Regions from separate parts of the Homo sapiens genome. Here all the other regions are linked to region 3. The links are contacts of gene promoters, found by promoter capture Hi-C in blood cells and fetal thymus (Javierre and others, 2016). All regions are on one chromosome and are shown on one strand. Each heading gives the region's core, a stretch centred on a gene start or on the middle of the fragment in contact. The rest is flanking DNA. Distances are from core to core; before and after follow the strand shown.

Evidence for each region. Contacts are between HindIII fragments. The CHiCAGO score rates a contact against its expected background, and 5 or more counts as called.
Region 1: a contact is called between a fragment that was not itself captured here and the fragment with the promoter of FLJ46875 in region 3, in 1 of 17 cell types (endothelial precursors). The highest score is 6.2, in endothelial precursors.
Region 2: a fragment that was not itself captured here is called in contact with the fragment with the promoter of FLJ46875 in region 3 in 1 of 17 cell types (endothelial precursors); the score reaches 6.5 in endothelial precursors.
Region 4: a contact is called between a fragment that was not itself captured here and the fragment with the promoter of FLJ46875 in region 3, in 4 of 17 cell types (M0 macrophages, monocytes, M2 macrophages and 1 more). The highest score is 9.4, in M0 macrophages.

The regions. Positions count from the first base shown.
Region 1 is chr2:157,044,664-157,047,525 of GRCh38, reverse strand. The region is part of intron 1 of LOC105373710 (a long non-coding RNA gene); the gene reads left to right. LOC105373709 (a long non-coding RNA gene) reads right to left here. Exons shown (of 4, transcript XR_001739755.2): 3 at 437-623. Among named protein-coding and RNA genes, the nearest start is that of GALNT5, 210 kb to the left of the region's middle. The HindIII fragment of the contact is 3,602 bases long and covers 1-2,862 here.
Region 2 is chr2:157,061,055-157,064,311 of GRCh38, reverse strand. No RefSeq gene overlaps it. Among named protein-coding and RNA genes, the nearest start is that of GALNT5, 200 kb to the left of the region's middle. The HindIII fragment of the contact is 1,738 bases long and covers 573-2,310 here.
Region 3 is chr2:156,340,867-156,344,047 of GRCh38, reverse strand. FLJ46875 (a long non-coding RNA gene) reads left to right here and starts at 1,928. Exons shown (of 1, transcript NR_147695.1): 1 at 1,928-3,181. RefSeq lists enhancers at 647-706, 1,914-2,467, 2,468-3,023 and silencers at 1,117-1,726, 2,267-2,366. The HindIII fragment of the contact is 3,407 bases long and covers 1-2,623 here.
Region 4 is chr2:155,688,659-155,691,765 of GRCh38, reverse strand. No RefSeq gene overlaps it. Among named protein-coding and RNA genes, the nearest start is that of LINC01876, 560 kb to the left of the region's middle. The HindIII fragment of the contact is 516 bases long and covers 1,334-1,849 here.

The DNA.
Region 1 (2,862 bases), core at 263-2,762, 700 kb before region 3:
TATAAAGGTAGAGAAATGTGTCAATTTTCTCCTTGAACTTCTGCCACCTTGTAATCAGGAACTAATTAATTAATTAGCTAATATTTTTAAAGTGCATTGAAAATGAGCTGTATCATAGAAATGCTAAGTATTTTAAAGCCTTGCGTTGCCTCATATATACCAAATAGGCTTTCTTAAAGTTTGTAAAGGACAATTTGAACAAATTACATTTGGTTAAAGGAAAAAGCTAGGCGTATATTGAAGACAGGTGTAGTCAGGAGTAGGAGAAGTTGGAATGGGAAAGTGCAAATGTAATCAAGAGAAGGAAAATGATTCTTTACTTTTATCTCCATTTATCATTATCAGAAAACAAAAGAGATGTATGTCTTATAAAATGCTAAAAATAGAATACAAATTTATCAAAATGAAATAGTACGATAATTGTTCTTATACTTACGAAGTTGTTAATAGAGTTAAGTCAGGACTTCCTATACAGGTGATTATTTTATAATGCTCTTGGAACTTAACTCCAAGGCCAAAACATCCCATTTGGAATATTGAGCTATATCTGCACTGCCTAATCATGGATAACAATCAGCCTCTTCCTTCTCCATGATTTTCATGTCCAAAGACTGTGCCAATGCCTGGGGAGGACAAAGGAAAGAAGAATCATGGCCAGTGCCCCCACACTGATAAATGTGGAAAACCAAGCCACAGCAGTCACGCTTCAATATGAGATTTCAAACCTAGAGAGTTCTCAAATGGGGTAAATTGCTCAAGTACTTTTTTAGACCCAGACTTACTTTTGTGATTTTTAAACATGATCATGTGGAAATTCAACTTTGCTAGAAATTATATTTGTTTCAGTTTAGTGGTGGTGGTGTTGTGCAATCTTTCCACACTTCTCTTTCTTTAAAGCCAATGAGAGAGATGGCCCAGAACATAGAAACAGAAGGCAACCGCAAAACATTGTTATGGTACTATTTTCACTCCTCAGGTATTATTTGCAGCATTTGCAGATCACTGCTGGTGTTCTCTCTTGTGAATATATGAGGAATAGACCTGACCCACAGAGTTAACTTGGCTAAGTGAGGTTCACTTGGCTAACTTGAGTTTGGCCTCAACTTGACATCATCACTGTGGGCTCAGCAAAGTGATTGCTCACAAGTAGACTGTGCAATATGCCCTTTTACCTCCTCCGAGGCCATAAATTATCACCCCAATAGTATACGATCATATCTTTTTCTACGTCACTTAAGGCAGATTAAATGGCGTCATCCAGTCTTTCTTACCTTTACAATTCTCATAAGCCATTTGGCCGATGTAGAAACTGAGATATAGAGAGACTGAATAGTTTCTCCAACCTCCTATATGTAGCAAAAACTTGGAGTTGAACATAGATGTCTAATGCCAGAGCCAGAGTCCTTAACCAATATACCATACTCTCTACCCATAATAATGATAATTACTAACACTTATCTAGAACCAGTGCTTTTCCAGTTAATTAAATTACTTGACTAATTTTATCTTCACAACAACCATATAATGTAGCTATTATTACTATGCCACTTGTATGTATGAAAAAACTGAGATGTAGAGAGGTTGTATAATTAAAGTTTGATCAATAGTAAGTGGCAGAGCAGGGATCTGAATAGGACATACTGACTTTTAGGATTTTATTTCGCATATAAATATCATGTAGAAACGTAGTATGCTTCATGACAAATCTTAGTGAGATACTGGATTTTTTCTCCTTTATATGACCGTAAGAGCTTCATAAGTCCTCATTTGTATGAAAGTTTGTTCCTAACCATTGTTTGGATTAAGACAGTAACATTAAAAAATTATGTATCCCTTAGAAGAGCAATACACTATCATGTAAGCATTTATGAATGCACTAGTACAGATGTTTATCTGATTAGCTAGCTGTCATTGTGCACAGTTAAACTCTAAGTAAAGGAATCTGTTGTAAGTCTTTGATAGAGATGAGTTTTAGAAAAGGTCCAAGTGCTCCCTGAAGAAATCATACCTGATAGGGAGAGAAACTACAGAAGGTCCTGAATAAACAGGATACCACACTGTATCCTGAGAAGAAAATACATCAAATAAGTAGAGAAATGCTCTTTGCCTCAGATTTGAACCTATAAACTAGCTTGACACATACAAACACCAAATATGAAATGACCAAGGAAGTTTGACTTCTTCACAGAAATCTCAGAAACCTCTGCTTGAACTCCACACCAAGCATGCACTCAGCCTGTTATTTCTCTTTCCTCTGTGTTTCTACAATTTAGAGTAGAAATTTGAACTTCAGTTTTCTTGCTGTGGTGCTCCGTGTACTTGGTTTGGGCTCCTCACTTGTTCTACTGCTCTATGCCCTAGTTGTAGTCTCCATGATCTAAATTAGGCTGTAATTGTTGATTAATACCTTGAAAGGGACCAGCCAAGGCCCATGACGAAAGTTCAAAGGCCCTGAAGTTAGATGTGTATTTTGCTGGCTTGAAGTCTTGATCGGCTCCATTGACTGTGGCTATGGTGAAAGTTGTAAGAAAAGCAAAAAGCAGTAGTGCTCCCCCCCGGCCACACCCCTTACCACCCATACCAATCTTAACTATTTAGGCTTGTCCTCTACACAACTGTCTTGAAAAATTCTTTGACAAATTTTGTGGATCCTCTGCCATTCATTCAGTTTGACAGCTATGTGCTTTTTTTATAGGAAAAAGATAAAATAGACATATGTAACTATTAGGCAAGTTGCATCAAAATTTGGGAGTGCTAATTAACAGAGAACTTACCTTTACAAAAATCCTGTAAATTGCTGTCTATTTTTCCAGAAATTATGCTTATTTACTGTTTTCTGTTTCTGAGAAAGAATGTTTTAAA
Region 2 (3,257 bases), core at 192-2,691, 720 kb before region 3:
CTGAGAACCATGTTGACATAAAATTCCATCAAAGAAGAGCACATATTTAAAGTCAGTTGATCATACTCACCTTTTGGCAGGTCCACTCTAACCAGCCTCACTCTCTGACCAGCAGAATGTGTTTCTTCATCTACCAAGGCAAAGATGATAATTGACAAAATGGCCAAGGCCACTTTAAATTCAAAATGGAGTTAGGTGCCTGAATTAATACAGGATGGAGAAATTCATAAAAATAACTCTTTAATTTTACAATGATTTTAGGAGTTGATTTTCTATAAAAGAGTTGACATGAACCTGTTACAAACACCCATCTAGTTCATGCCAAAAGACAGCTGCAGTCCTTTCCAGATGGGAGCACTCTCACAGGGCACTTGCTGAGAATTCTTCAACACAAACATTGTTCTGTGGGTTTCTTGATCCATCTGCTAACTTCTATTTTGCATAGATTTTCCAGAACTGAAAACCTAGAAAAAGGATAAATTCCCCAAGATTCAAATTCAAATCAAAGTGTTTCAATAGAGGAACTCAGTCTTACACTTCAATGAGAGTAGATTTACCCTCTGGGAGAAGCTTGGCAAATACCCACAATCATAGTTCATTACCAGATGTGCAATTTTAAACTCTTTTATGAAGACAAGGCCATAAACTTACTCAAAGACAATGTCTCTTTACATGAACTAATGGTTCTCAGAAGTTTAAGAAATCCTAGATATGGAAATATCCTAGATATGGAAAACATGAGAGAACAAGTCTTTATTTTGTTTCTTATTCCCCACCTACATGCAGAATAGTGAACAAATAAGTACTATTAATAATTCTTAGGCTAGTCATGTGAAACTATAAAATTTTCACTTTGTGGTGAACAAGAGAAGGCATTTTACAGAGAACAGGACACAATTCACTATTTTTAGAGGCATTTACAAATTGTTTTCAAGCCTAATAACTATCATTGTCTTTCCTCTCCACCTGTGATCTCTGTGGGTAGTGCCCAAACTCACATTCTTCATGATTTGTCTGTTTTATTTCCAATTCATATGGACCCAATCACCAGGATAGGGGGCTGAAGGCACTTTCCCTTCTCTCTCATTTTATAAGCTGTTCACAAAATTAGTGAATTTTGGAGCTAGAAGAAATCTTACCATCCATCTAATCTACCCCCCCCCCACCACCCTTAGAGTGAACAAACTGTAAGGAAGAATGAACAGTCATACACCTGTCAGCTGGAGAAAGAACAAAACCTAGAATCCAAGTCTTCAAATTCTTAGTCAGCACTCTTTGACTTCTCCAAACCACATTCCTTGACTGGCTCTTACTACAGAGAAATAGGGAATCCCCACATTGTTCCATTTACATGGCATTACACATCTGGCATAACACATGTGGCATAATTTGGCCATAATGTACTCAATTAAAAAATAACTTGGAAGTTATCTTAATGTGAATTTTTACAATCCTAAGAAAAACAGCTAAGAGTGGTTATTTATACTTTCATATGGAAGGTGTTTTTTTTCTAATTCTAAGAAACGTCCATGGTAGCTTGATGGAGACAGCACTGAATCTATAAATTACTTTGGGCAGTATGGCCATTTTCACAATATTGATTTTTCCTATCCATGAGCATGGAATGTTTTCCCATTTGTTTGTGTCCTCTCTTATTTCCTTGAGCAGTGGTTTGTAGTTCTCCTTGAAGAGGTCCTTCACATCCCTTGTAAGTTGGATTCCTAGGTATTTTATTCTCTTTGTGGCACTTGTGAATGGGAGTTTACTCATGATTTGGCTGTCTGTTTCTCTATTATTGGTGTATAGGAATGCTTGTGATTTTTGCACATTGATTTTGTATCCTGAGACTTTGCTGAAGTTGCTTATCAGCTTAAGGAGATTTTGAGCTGAGAAGATGGGGTTTTCTAAATATATAATCATGTCATCTGCAAACAGAGACAATTTGACTTCCTATTTGAATACACTTTATTTCTTTCTCTTGCCTGATTTCCGTGGCCAGAACTTCCAATACTATGTTGAATAGGAGTGGTGAGAGAGGGCATCCTTGTCTTGTGCCAGTTTTCAGATGGAATGCTTGCAGCTTTTGCCCATTCAGTATGATATTGGCTGTGGGTTTGTCATAAATAGCTCTTATTATTTTTAGATTCGTTCCATCAGTACCTAGTTTATTGAGAGTTTTTAGCACAAAGGGGTGTTGAACTTTATTGGAGGCCTTTCCTGCATCGATTGAGATAATCATGTGGTTTTTGTCAAGGCAACTAAACAGGTGTTTGGGCCACAAGCCTTGCACTCTAGGGAATCCCCAAAGCTTGAGTTGACTTGCTTTTATTTGCATTTTCCTGTGAAGTGGATGCCTTTCTTTGGGGAGCAAATGATTCTGTGATGCCCAGATAGAAAGTTTGAAATGTGTCATAAGGATGCCTTCTTATTATGGCAGGATAAGGAGATAATGTTTACAGGCTTATGTGTCTGGGTATGAACAAGGTTAGAAGAGAAACAGAACTTTCCTATTATTTTGATGATATGACCAACATGGCTTATTTTCTCCCTTACCTAGTTTGTGCTATATAAAACCTTAATTCAATGTATTTCATTAAATTCATCTTTAAATAAAAATGATTAGTATGTTATTTCTCTGATATCTTTGGGCTAATCATATTAATGCCTTTGGTTTAAGAAGTGAAACATTTGAATTACAGTTGCTGGTGGATGGCACCAGCAACCATGTGGTTTTATAATGCAGAATTATGTAATGATAAAACATAGTCTGTTCAAAAGAGTACAAAGTTAAAAAGAAACTTTTATTGAAGGCTTTTAAATTGTATTACATGCATCTCCATTTAGCAGATTAAAAATGAAGGTTTAAAAAAGGTATGCAATTGCTCATTATTGAAAATAAAATGATATTATCAAAGGGGAAAAATAGACGTCTCTCTTACCTTCTGATGCTGTTGTCTTTGTAGTCTTGCAATAATAGGACCACTTGAATCATTGATAACTCAGAATATATGCATAATTAGACTTGAAATCATGTGGATTCTGTTAGAATTGCTTTCCAAATGTGGCATCTCCTCCTCTCCACCTTTACTATGCTCAATTATCATCAACATTAGCCTGAATGATGGCAAGAATCTTCTCACTTGTCTCTCTTTCTCTTCCAGGCAGTCTTGGTGACAATGTTACTTTCTCAAAAATAAGAAAACAAAGCAAAGCAAACTATGCCCATCATTGTCATTCTTCTCCTCAGTGACAAGCTT
Region 3 (3,181 bases), core at 679-3,178:
CCTGTGACATCATTAGACTGTAAATATGTCTGCTGTCCTGTAAATGAGGCAGACTGTGACTAGTTTTTCCTCTTAAAATAGTTTTAATGGTATATTTTAATTCATTATTTTCCTGAAGTGGCCCTAATATATTTTAAGATGTACAAAATTTTAAAATGTCAGAACACCAAATTAATCTACATTTGTTACCTGTCTCCCATGAGACACTGGGTGCTTATGTTTATTTGATAAAACTTTATCCCTGGACACAATATCCTTTAACATCCTAGAATGTAAGGGTAGAAAAGGAACTATCAGTCCTTAATGTTAATGAAGAAAGTGCGGCAGAGAAAGGCCGTGGTTTCTGCAAGGTGGCACAGAAAAGTACAGTGAAGACATAATTAAAACTCAAATTTCTTTATCTTCTAAACCCCAGCTCAGAGAACCTTCTACTATACCACTTTGCCTCACTAGTGAACTAAGAACCATTTCCCCCAACACTAGTAACTCACTCTAACCATGCCAAGTCACTGCAACACCTTGCTTGCATCTGCAAATTTTTATCTATGTCTATATCAGAACCTCAGAAAACATGTTCATAGCTGAGACATTTTGCTCAAGACGAAATACAGTTTTATAGTCTATTAATTGTTGGTCCAAGAAAACAGATTACCTCCAGTTGTATGTGGGTACCTTAATGAGTAGGACAAGTGTCAGGGTGTGTGACAGAATTGCCTGAGTATGGAAGGTAGCAGTGAGAGTCTCCACAAAAATATTAATACTTTCCTATAGAGAAAGCCCCTTTTAAAGTGGGAGCCTTTATTAAAGTCCAGAGTTAAAAAGTAAGCTCTTTAACGTTGAGATTATAGACTTTTAGAAAGTTCATTTATGCCATGTTTCAGGCCTATGCTAAATTCTACGGCAAAAAGACCTGTAAATGCACCGGAGCTGACAGCCTGGGTCCTGGAACCCTTCCTCACGCTGCTACTACGGGGCACCCTTTCTATAATACAACCCCCCGAATGAAAACACTAATGCAAGCCTGGCCCCACAAAAACCTAGATAATGCTTACGTTGAAGACGACAGGTTTTTCGCTTTTGTTTTCGGTTGAGGACTTACTACCCCAAAAACACATCCGACCTGTACTAGAATAGGTGTGTGAGGGAGCGGGAAAAGCTCGGGTCATTTTAACTGGACTAGAAAGGAACACAGCGATCCCCTCACTAAACTTGTCGCCAAGTTCCCTCCTCGCCATCCCAGGGTGCGGGAAAAACCCCCTCCCGCCCCGGGGCCCCGGCAGCACTCGGGGACGCCAGCACGCCGGGCTCCTTCCCACCCGCGAACCGCGCTCCCCGCAGGGCGGGCCGGGGCGGGGAAAAAGGAGCTCGACGCGAAGGGCCGCGGGCGGCCTGGGAAGGGAGGAGGGAGACTTGGGAGGCTGCCGGGCGGTTTTATTGTTTCCTTTCGCCCTCCTCCTACCGCGCCTCCGCCCCAGCGTCACTGGAAAGCCGCCCGAGCCGCCCGGCGGCAGGTTATTTATAGCGCGGGCTGCGCGCGCGTCACGGAGCCCGGCCCGGCTGACGGGGCCGCTGACGCGCTTGGCCGCGGGGCCGAGTCCGCGGGGCTGCGCGCCGGACGCCGGCGACAATGGGCTTCTGTGTGCAGCTGCCGCAGCCGCCGGGGGCCGGGGGCCGGGGGCCGGGGGAGGGGGGCGGGCGACTCCCCGGCTCCCTTCTTGGTCGGCCGCGACCCCCCGAAAGGTAACAGGCCTCTTTCGCCCCCGGCCAGGACCTGGGCCCTGTGGGCTTTTTTTTTTTCCATTTTATCAGTAAGTTCCCCTTGTCCCAGCCTCCGCTTTCACTTCCCGCGTTCCCTCCACCCCAAAAACCGCCCCAACATGTCCAGAGAGGGGCATCTACCCAGCCGCCCAGCCAGGGGCGACCACTTTGTGAGCCCCGGGGAGCGGGACCCGTACCAGGCGCGCCCAGCGGGGGATGCGGTGACCGAGGGGCCGGGAGCGCCGGGCAGGTAACGTATCCTGGACCTAGAGTCGGGGGACTTTGTTTGGGGCGGGAGGAGCGGAACAGGGGTGGGTGTGAACGCCGGACGGCCCTTCCGGGACTCCTGTCCCCCCTCCTTCGCCCCACTCGCCTGCGCGCTGGAAGCCAATCTGGGTGTGTAGCGCGAAGAGCGAAAGAGAAACTTCTGCGTGACTGACTAGATGAGGCTCCTCCCGAGAAGCCGAGATAATAGAGGCCCCCTCTCCCGCCGCCCGCCTTTTTCTCCTCCCCCGGCCGCTCGCTCCTGTCGCCCCACCCCTCGAAGGCTGCGGACCAGCCCCCCACACTTCCCCCTACACCTCTGGCGGGTTCGCGCCGTGGACGCCCCCGCCCTGCGGGAGGAGGGGCTGGCGCGGATTTTAGGGACTTCCTGGGATGCGGAGATCGGCTCTGAACCATCCCCTTTCTGCTGCCCGGAGCTGGGGAAGCTCGCTGTGGAGCGTCTCGCACGTGGCAGGCAGGCAGAGAACTTGCTGCACCTTCTAGGAAATTGCAATCGATTTGTAATGCACTTTCGCTAATTGGGAGTTCAAAATTAAACTTTAATAAAGCATTCGTGTCGTCTCGTCTAATTGTGAAAGCTTCCATCCGTCCTGGTAGATAGACTCTAAGTCTCAAGTTAATGGCGCTAAGCTAGATTTTCCCCCCAAGTACAATTCCGTCAGCCGTCGTCGGCGCAGCTGGATTTCCGTAAGGTACAGATGTTGCTAATGACAGCTTAAGCACGGATGGGCAGATAGCATACGGAATGCAACATGTTGCCATATGGTTCCTTTAGCCTTTCACCTCCAGGGATATCAATCACATATATTCTGGGAGGAACTTAATGACTCTCTGAACAGCAAAATGAATTACCTGGTACAATTTATATCCCTTGACCTGATACGTTATAACAACAGGAAGATAGCATCTCGCAATTTCTGTGGTATAAATTGAACTACAGAGCTACATTTAAAATTCTACATCTATTTGTAGTTTAAGGGGCCCTGTCATATTCTGGCTGTAAAATCTGTTTCTGTATTGCCCATCTCCTTCCCCCTCCTACCTCTGGAGGAAGCAAAATTTATAAAGTTTAGCAAAACTGGTGTCGGAAATTGCCAGTCAACTGATTAATAGATGAAGTATGGAGAAATGGAAAATA
Region 4 (3,107 bases), core at 342-2,841, 650 kb after region 3:
TACTAGGTGCTGTGCGAAGACTGGTAAGGCATAGTCTTTGCCCTTGAGTTGTTTTGGGATGTCTATGAGAAACATTTAAACTGCTGTTTGAACTTGCACATCTGTTTTTGACTAGAGTAGGAGGTGCTGCCTGAGCAGAATCTTAAAAGACACTTAGGAGTTATTCAAGAAAAAAAGAAGAAAAGGTTTTTAATCATAACGAGAGTGCCAAAGGTACAGAGATTCACAGGATATTATTACATTCTAACAACTACACAAAATTTAAGCTAGACAGTCAGGGGTGGTGTGTGTCAGTATTGACAAGATAAGAAAAGATCAAATCAAAGTCCTTAATTGTCATTGTAAAGTGATTGAACTTTGTTATTCGTACAGTAAAAATTGGTATATTTTTGCTTTTTTGAGGCTAGAGTGCATCGGTACAAAAAATAAAAGTATACAGAAAGTAGAAATTAACAATTCCATTTTAATGCCACCATTAAAGTATGAAGAACAGAGGTGACTTGATCATCTCTGCATTTAGAAAGATTCTTCTGATCTTGGGAATAGATAGAAGGGAACCAAGTCATGCAGAAAGAACATCAATTTGGAAGATGTTGCTATAATCCAAACAACAAGAAATAGTAAGACCCTGAAAGAACAGAGGAAAGTGTGCATATCTGGAGATATTTAAAATGTACAATTGACAATAGTTGGTAAGTATTTGAATAAGGAAGTTAAGAGAATGGGAACACGCAGACATGACTAGCAAAACTAGGAAAACGAAAGCAGAGTTCATTGCTCTGATGCAAAACACAACTGTTCTAGAAATGAGGAACCAATACCAACCATCCATTTATATACTCATATTGCATGTTTATTTGGATGGATCAGACTTATTTATAGTGGCTAGGTTATAATTTGATAATTTTTCCAGTAATTGGCTTATAAACAACAAAACCTAAAGTGGTATAAACTACACACATTTTTAATTGGAGGTACAAGGAGTTATATATAAAAGCTCTTAATTTTTCTGTATATGAGTATGATATTCCTTTGAAGTTAAGAAGATGTATACTAAGTTTTGGGTATTGATACTGAACACCCCTAGGTTTTCAATAATCACTAGCCCTCCTACTCCGGTCTATTATTTTTGGACAGAAGAGAGTTAATGAGGCAATGCAATAATAAAGAAAAGAACATGAAGAGCAAAAAGCTATGTGACATTAAGATCTATTGGGGCACTGCTGAAATTGTTGAGTTTGATTTAAACCTTCAACCTAATTTAAGAAGGAGGCATTCTTCATCATTCTAACCTCAAATCCTGAATATAATTAAAGCTTTATAGGTTAAAGCTTTGATGGAATAATTTCCAGGTTTCTCTTTTCTAGTTCTGCATTTTGAAAAATCTTAATTATTATTCTATTTAGAACTTCAATCACTTAAATTTACAACTTGAGTGACTTTAGTTAAACCAAAAAAGCCTGATGTATTCTGTATCCAAATTTTCTGTTCTATTTTTCTTTAATCTTTTATTACGAACATGTCTAACAACTAAGGTCTTAAATATTCAGCTCCTCTTTGCTCTATGTTGAAAATAAACAGGGAACGCATTAGAGTTGTAGTTATTTTAGAGAGAGGATAAGATCCCTAATGAATTCTGGAAGCTAGGGAAGTTGATTTGTGAGGGATGTGGATATGCGTGAGAGATGTACAGATATAATTCAGTGAGGAAATTTGAATCACGCCTCAAGGCACAGGATGCCTGTGAACCAATCACTACATAAAGACTTTTTTGTTGTCCCATGCTTTGGCCTCTTGGTGAGGTTATTCTTTTGGCAAATGATCTATCTTAATATTACACAAGGAAGCTTTGTGTGAACAGTGCATAATCAGAGTTCTCTTGTCCGACAATAATGTAAGGAAAAAAATGTGTGCAATATCAAACACTACAGAACAGAATAAAAATAGTATTCCTTTGTTACATAAATGTAAAAGTAATAGTGAAAAGCAACGACTTAGAAAGAACACTGAAATTATGAAAACTTGGTGTCTTTGGAAGATTCTTTGTAGGATTTAAACAGGAATTTGGTGCTTTGGAGTATATATTCACATCACCAATGAGAACATTCATAGTATGTGCTAATAAGTATTGTTAACATGTACTAAATGTTTTATATGTGCCATTATTATACTAAGTAACTTTATATTATTTCACATACTTCTAACACCAAATAAAGAGATTGGTATAGTTAACTATTCACGAATCCCAGATAGGGGAATTGAGCCTACAGTTGTAGATCAGAATTTCAACTAAAGTCCATTGATTTTAGATGTGGTCCTTCCAGTCACCATCCAAGATTTCTTCTAAGAGTAATGTGTACTGTGGCTCCTTAGGAACTGCTTAATGCTATGTGATAAGATGCTTTGTTTAGTATTTCATTAAATTAGATCTATGATACTTATATAAGCATTGTATGCTGAAGAAAATCTTGAAACTGTGTTTACCTGTCTTTCATATTTTCAACATTTCAAAATTGTATTTGAATCATAGATCATTATTTTATAGTTCATGGTTCTCTAGGAGATAAATAGAGGTGCTTTAGGGGACCAGTGGCCTTCTAAAATTACATCTTAAACATAGTGTACTTGCAATTTGTTGTATTTTTCTGGAAACTGATAATATTTTATAGCTGCATGTGATCCAAAAAAAGTTTAAGGAACTTTAGTTGGAAGTTTTGAAAATAAATGAAATCTAAAATAACACTTTTACCAAAAAAACTAAAAATCAATATAATCCCCAAAATTTAATAGGAATAATGACAAGGTCATAAATGTATAAAGGCTTAGAAATAATGTCACCAGGAAACAGTGATTTTAAAAATTATTCCTCAGAGATTAGAGTATTAGAGTTATGTGATGTCGACTCACTAAGCAATAGCAAGTCCTATTAAAATTCTGTATTTTGAATTTGTTTATGTCAAATATGACTATATCAAATCCACTTAATATGAATCTATCAAATCTGTTTTAAAATTTGGTATGTAGTGCTTTGGATTACTGTTTTTATTTGGTTTGACTATTATTTTAATTTAAACACAAACTTTATTTGGTAAGTGTGTATGTGTCTT